Regions from separate parts of the Homo sapiens genome. Here region 1 is linked to region 2. Evidence: promoter capture Hi-C in human tissues and cell types (Jung and others, 2019). All regions are on one chromosome and are shown on one strand. Each heading gives the region's core, a stretch centred on a gene start or on the middle of the fragment in contact. The rest is flanking DNA. Distances are from core to core; before and after follow the strand shown.

Evidence for each region. Contacts are between HindIII fragments. The study calls those that stand out against the background at their distance.
Region 1: a contact is called between a fragment that was not itself captured here and the fragment with the promoter of PRSS48 in region 2, in 2 of the 25 tissues and cell types used here (H1 embryonic stem cells and dorsolateral prefrontal cortex).

What each region holds. Positions count from the first base shown.
Region 1 is chr4:151,172,346-151,175,663 of GRCh38, forward strand. It overlaps SH3D19 (SH3 domain containing 19), which reads right to left. Exons shown (of 20, transcript NM_001378122.1): 7 at 2,325-3,318. LOC105377485 (a long non-coding RNA gene) reads left to right here. Exons shown (of 2, transcript XR_007058329.1): 2 at 1-1,766. Among named protein-coding and RNA genes, the nearest start is that of SH3D19-AS1, 50 kb to the left of the region's middle. The HindIII fragment of the contact is 5,014 bases long and covers 1-3,318 here.
Region 2 is chr4:151,275,525-151,278,903 of GRCh38, forward strand. PRSS48 (serine protease 48) reads left to right here and starts at 1,637. Exons shown (of 5, transcript NM_183375.5): 1 at 1,637-1,700. The coding sequence starts at 1,649. All of the region lies in intron 1 of SH3D19 (SH3 domain containing 19), which reads right to left. The HindIII fragment of the contact is 14,422 bases long and covers 1-3,379 here.

The DNA.
Region 1 (3,318 bases), core at 765-3,264, 100 kb before region 2:
AGTGTGCATTCTAGAAACTCCCCCTAGGTAGCCACAGTATGGATTGTGATAGGATTGTCTGAGTGGGCTCAATTTGGGAGGCCACTGCAGTCATCAGAGTGTAAAGGCCTAAAGTGGGGCAGAAGAGGGAAGGATGAAAAGGAGAGGCAGAGTCAAGAACTATTTGGAAGGTAAAACCAGCAGGAGTTGGTAACTAATTAGATGTGAAGGCAGAGAAGTAACAATAATAACTACTAATTAATGATCATAGGGCTTTCCTGCATAATCACATTTAACCCTTGCAATACCCTAGGTGAGGAGTAGTATTACGTCTAAACAAATGAGGAAACAGAGGCACTGTGAGGTTAAGAAAATTGCCCAAGGTCATGTAACAAATATGGTAGACCCTGGCAGACTCCAAATCTGAACAGCTAGCCACTGTGTGACACGGTGAGAAGACTCAAGGATGATCTCTGGGTTTCTCCAGGAAAGGCTGGTGTGTGTGTGATGGTGTCAATAGTGAGTTGCAAAATATAGGAAGAAAGAAGATTTAGAAAGAAGATAGTATTCAGCTCAGTATAACCCCATAGTCCAGAGCAATGGTTAAAGTCAGATAGCACAAGCAAATTACACACTTTGCTAAAAGACGCCCCAATAATTAAATGTTGTTCAATGAAGTGGTAGAAATCAAGAAATGGAAAAGGCTGAGTATGAAGCATGAGACTGTATTCATGCTTAAAGTATATTGTTGACCTTCCTTTTTGAAGATGACTATAATTATCTGCTAGATGATACAAAATAAATTCTCAGCAATTATTAGTTGAGTTGCCATCCCCATAGAAACTAGCAAGTTCTACAAAAGGTAATATTTCTTTAGCTTGCTGCTGTTGGGTTTATCTATCCCTGTCCTTCTCTGAATCTTGTTAATACCAAAAAGGTTTATATAAGAAAATGGTATTATCAAAGACTTGAAAAGTTTTTAAAGTGTTGCCTGGTTAAGGATTCATGAAAATATTGGGTAGCAACATTATACAGTGAAAAATAAACTAGGCTTAGAATAAAAACACTAAGTTTGAATCCTGACTTGAACAATTGTTTTATGACACTGGGCAAGTGATCCATAGATCTCTCTCAGTCTCACTGTCTTCATTTGCAAACTTAGGCCAATGATAACTCACAGACGGTTGTTGCAATTATTAAATAAAATAATGTATGTCTCAGTATTTAGCAGAGCATTAGGTACACTGCAGAAGCTTAATATATTCAAATGTTTTTCCTTCCACCCTTTATGGACAAAAGCCATGTATGTCTTTTAGTTTATACGCTAAAATGTTGTGTGTCAGTTACAATGTTCTGTGCATGATGAATATTTAATAATGTGTATGTTTGTTTTCATTTTAAACACACCTGTGCTATGCAGAATGTGGCTGTGAAATCACAGAGCCTGTACTATTTTGATGCATGTTAAACATTTATACAGTGACAGTTAAGCTTTTGAAAATTCTATTAAGTTTATATGTTCACAAATTCCACCCAAATAAGTCAACAGCAGTAAAAGAAATCTTATCAATGACAAGTAGAGCAGCTTAGTTTGACAAATCAAAGATAAGCTTTACCATCACACTCTCCAACGGAACAGTTAGAGGAAAGAAAACATACTCTCTGCCTTCTGGGATATTTAATTGTACTGATCTTGGCAGCTAACTTGTATCTGTTGTATTTTATTTACAAAACTTTTCACTCTCAAGGGAAGATGTTCTGTGAAGATTAAAGGAACAACTTTGCAACATGTGGCTGGGTCCTCATTCCGTACATTTTCGAGTCCTCCCCTGGAGCTGGCCCCTCTCCCAGCACTCCCAGCTGAGGCCCATTTCATCTGAGGAGCCCCTCTGGGGCCACTGCATGACTTCCCATCTAAGAGAAGCTTCCTCTGCATCCTTCTACATGTTCCATAACCTCCCTGGATCCTTTCAATGTGAAGTCTGAACTTCTATCTGCCAAGAGTAAGGGGAGCCAGCCCCACAACCTATTATAGTTTAGCTCCTAGCCCCAGTCTGCTTACTTCTGGCTCATATAATAGTAATCGATGCATGTGTCTCCCCATTTCTGACTCCATTACCCCCATCCCATATTTTCCCTTCCCTCCCTGTCTCCATTCCCCACATAGCTCCCATGTTTCTTGATCTGTCTGTTCATTCCTCTGTTTCTATACACACACATGCATGTGCACATACTTGTATACACACACCTCAATAACTTATGTACCAGAAACTAAAACAGCAAGTGCCATTTAAAATACCCTATCATGAGTTTAGATTCCCCTCCACTGCTGATTTTTCACTCACCTAGAACCATCTCTGAACCAACAGATTCTTCAGCCAGGTTCCCCGATGGGGTGGGCAAAACATCATCATCAAAGCTGATGAGATCGATGTCCACCAAGGGCTTGCTCTGCAGAACTGGAACTGGGGGGTTGGCTGGGGGCCCTTCTCCCAGTGACTTGTATGCTTTGGCTTGTGATGCCCCTGCGAGTCGGGGAGGAACAGTGACAGGTTTCAGTGGAGCTGAAGGGTAGGTGGGGTTTTCTGAGGAAACAGATTTCTTCAGCAGCAAAGGCCGCGGGGCAGGAGTTGGCACTTTCTTCCCACTATCAGAGCTCTCAGCCAGGGGCCCTCTTCCCGGAATCTCAGGATTAACACTTCGTATAAGGCCAGGGTTTGGTTTCTTTGGCAATTCAGGTTTGGTTACTGGGATGCTTCCCGCTTCTTGCAGGGGAGGGTATGGGGTGAGTCCTTCCTTGGAGGTCACCTTGAGTCTGTTCTCAGTCCCAGAGTCCCACTCTCCAGAAGCTCTGTTAGCAGCTGGTTTGGGAGCTACAGAAGGTTTCCCTGAGGAAACAGTAGGCTTTGGAGGAAGTGAACGTGGAGTAATTTCTGGTTTCTTGGGCAGTCCTGAGGTTTCTATGTTTGTCTGACCCTCAAACACTTTAATTCTGGAAACAATACTATTTTGGCTTTGTTCTGTGTTCATAATGTTCATCACTGCCTGACTGTCTGAGGTGCTAGCGTTGTCCAGCAGAGACTGGGGCCGGCCTGGGGATGACTCCTCTCCTACGGCTGCTGGGCTGATTTTCTGTTGACTTTGCTCTTTAATGTGAGAATCTCTGGGTATTGGTCTGAGGTTGCTTTTTGATCTTGGTTTTGGCACTGGACATCTTGTAGCACTGGGGTTTTCTGGACAATTCGGTTCTTCAGAAATATCAAAGACGATTAAAGGTGCCACATTTGTTGGAAGATTGCCAGACGAGACTGCTGAGAAAGGCTGAAGAGGCTTGAGAGG
Region 2 (3,379 bases), core at 387-2,886:
GTCTTCCATTATTATTTGAGACAGGTTCTTTCCGTCGCCCAAGCTGGAGCACAGTGGTACAGTCATAGCTCATGTAGCCTTGAACTACTGACTTCAAGTGATCCTCCTGCCTCAGCCTCCCGAGTAGCTGGGGACTTCAGGTGCACATCACTACACCAGGCTAATTTTTAAATTTTTGTAGATATAGGGTCTCACTGTATTGCCCAGGCTGATCTCAAACTCCTGGTCTCAAGGGATCCTCCCCGTTCAGCCTTTCAAAGTGCTGGGATAATAGGCGTAAGCTACCACGCCCAGCCACTTCTATTATTATTATTATTATTATTATTTTTTTTTTTTTAGACGGAGTCTCGCTCTGTCGCCCAGGCTGGAGTGCAGTGGCGCCATCTTGGCTCACTGCAACCTCCGCCTCCCGGGTTCAAGCGATTCTCCTGCCTCAGCCTCCCGAGTAGCTGTGACTACAGGTGCACGCCACTACACCCAGCTAATTTTTGTATTTTTAGTAGAGACGGGATTTCACCATGTTGGCCAGGATGGTCTCAAACTCCTGACCTCAGGTGATCCACCCGCCTCGGCCTCCCAAAGTGCTGGGATTACAGGCATGAGCCACCGTGCCTGGCCTATTAGTTTTAAACTGCTTATATGTTTCTTTCAAGCATCCCAATATTTTAAGTTGCAAGAGAGCAGTAACATTTTAATAGTTCATTGAATTCTGCCTCCACAGACCTAGCACCCTACAAACAATTGGCACAGAAAACAAAAGGCAGAGTGAAGATTTCTGAGGTAGATGTTGTGGTGTACCATCCAGACCCCCCTTTAGAACTGAAGCATTCATTCCCTTAGCAGCTAGGAGTGTTGGCTGCTGACAGTTCACAGCTAAGTCTTATTCCAAGAACTGCCAACAGAGCCACCTCACCCAAGGTAATGCCCCCTCCTAGGAGGTGGCCTGCATCCAATGATGCAGACCCCTAAGAACGCATCCTTCTTAGCTCAGTACAGAAAGTCTCTGAGGGCCACCTCAGCTCCAGAGAAACTTGTGAGATAGGCTGTGGCCTCTGTTGCAAACGCATCACAGTTCAACTCTCCCTCTAACCAATCCTACTACCCACCCAAGAGCTGCTGATCCTGAGACCACTCTAAAATAAATTTCCTGCACACAAATCTCTGTCTTAGAGTCTGTTTCCCAGGAAACTTGACTTGCAGTGCAGCTAACACTGTAACAGAAATGAAAACAAACAAACAAAAAAACTCAGAAAAATTAACCAGATACTGGGTTCATTTCCTCTTTTCCATTTCTTGCTTTTGGAGAATCCTGTCCACCTTCTATCTCCTTGCTAGAGACAGGGTCCTGTTTCTTCCAGTGCCCTCAACCAGCCACTCCTCAACACCACAGGCAGAAACCCCAGAAACCCTGCTCTCCCAGGACAGCAGGGGGCGCCACAGACCCCAGTTCCTCCCCTGGGTCCTGCAGCTGCACTTCTGAAGTCTGGTCCCTTCAGGATCTGGCAGCGGGTGAAGACCAAAGGAGAGGAGGGGGTGAAGCAGAGGAATCCATCTAGGAGAAGCTAGTTCTGGCAGCTCCCCATTGGCCTCTTCCTGGGAGCCTGAGTCCAGGAAGCAGGAAGCGCTCACTGGCTCTGAGGACAGAGACATGGGCCCTGCTGGCTGTGCCTTCACGCTGCTCCTTCTGCTGGGGATCTCAGGTGAGCGCCAGGGTGGGGTTGAGAAGGCAGAGGCAGAGGATTTTTACTAAAGAGGGCATCACATAGAACAATGTGACACTTCACCCATGGGATGTTAGTTATGAGTAGCACAGCCTGAGAAGGTCCTGAGAGGCTACTATATACCCAGCACCATTCCAATGCTCCCGATTGGAAATAGCAGTACACACACACACCCACAAGATCCCTATCTTCGTGGGACTTATAATCAATGCACATATTAAATGTGTAAATTATAAGGCTTGTTAGAAGGTAATAAGTACTATGAAAGGAAAGGGGCATCTGAAGTACAGGGGCAGGAGTGTTGCAATCTTTAGAAGGGTAGTTAAAGAAGGCCTCACTAAGAAGGAGTCATTTGAGCAGAACTGAAGGGGATAACTAAATTAAGTAAGAGGATCCAGGAAAAGAGCATCTCAAGCAGAGGGAACTGGAAGAGCAAACACTATTCTATGATTTCAGGTATATGCTTGTTCATTTATTTTTCTGGTCCACAGGGATTTAAAGGAAGGGTATACTGGCCAGGCACAGCAGCTCACGCCTGTAATCCCAGCACTTTGGGATGCCAAGGCGGGCAGATCACCTGAGATCAGGAGTTCAAGACCAGCCTGGGCAACATGGTGAAACCCCATCTCTACAAAAAATACAAAAATTAGCCGGGCGTGGTGGCGGGCACCTGTAGTCCCAGCTACTCAATAGACTGAGGCAGGAGAAGTGCTTGAGCCTGGAAAGTGGAGGTTGCAGTAAGCCGAGATAGCGCCACTGCACTCCAGCCTTAGCGACAGAGTAAGACCCCGTCCCCCCAAAAAACAGAAAGGGTATGCTGAGAGAGCAAAAAACTTAACAGGTAGCAAAGAAGAAAGATACACAAATACTGCAAAATGCCAATTCAGTTAAACCAAATAGCACAAAAGTAAACAGCTTGCAACCTCAACCGCATCTGAGGGCATCATTGTATTTATAAACTAACATACTTCATATTCCTGATGGTGACCTTGAATCAAGTAAAAGCTAAATTTGAATCTTCATAGAGCATTTTTTTTTTAAGAGACAGAGTCTCACTCTGTCACCCAGGTTAGAGTGCAGTGGTGCAATCATAGCCCACTGCAACCTCAGACTCCTGGGTTCAAGCAATCCTCCCACTCAGCCTCCCTAGTAGCTGGGACTACAGGTGTGGTTGAACCACACCTGTTGTGTTTGTGGCCCAAAAGAAGAAAAAAAAAACCCTGACTAGTATTTAGGAAGTGATTTGTGAAAAGTAAGAAAAGTCTCTAATATAGCACCTGTCTCCAACATTCCTTTTTCTACTTCTGTGCCTTATCTCTGGTCATCCCTAGTTTGAGAGTCCCATGTGACCTAGGGTTTCCTTCTGCCCTGCCTATCTCACCACATTTTTTTCCTTTTCTTTTCAGACAGGGTCTCACTCTCTCGCCCAGGCTGGAGTGCAGTGGCATGATCTAAACTCACCGCATCCTCCACCTCCCGGGCTCAAGCAATCCTCCTGCTTCAGCCTCCCAAGTAGCTGGGACTACAGGCATGCACCATCATGTCAGGCTAATTTCTTTATATTTTTTGTAGAGACGGTGTTTGGCCATGTTGCCCAGGCTGGTTTTGAACTCCTGGACTTGAGCAATCCACCCACCTCAGCCTCCCAAAGTGCTGGG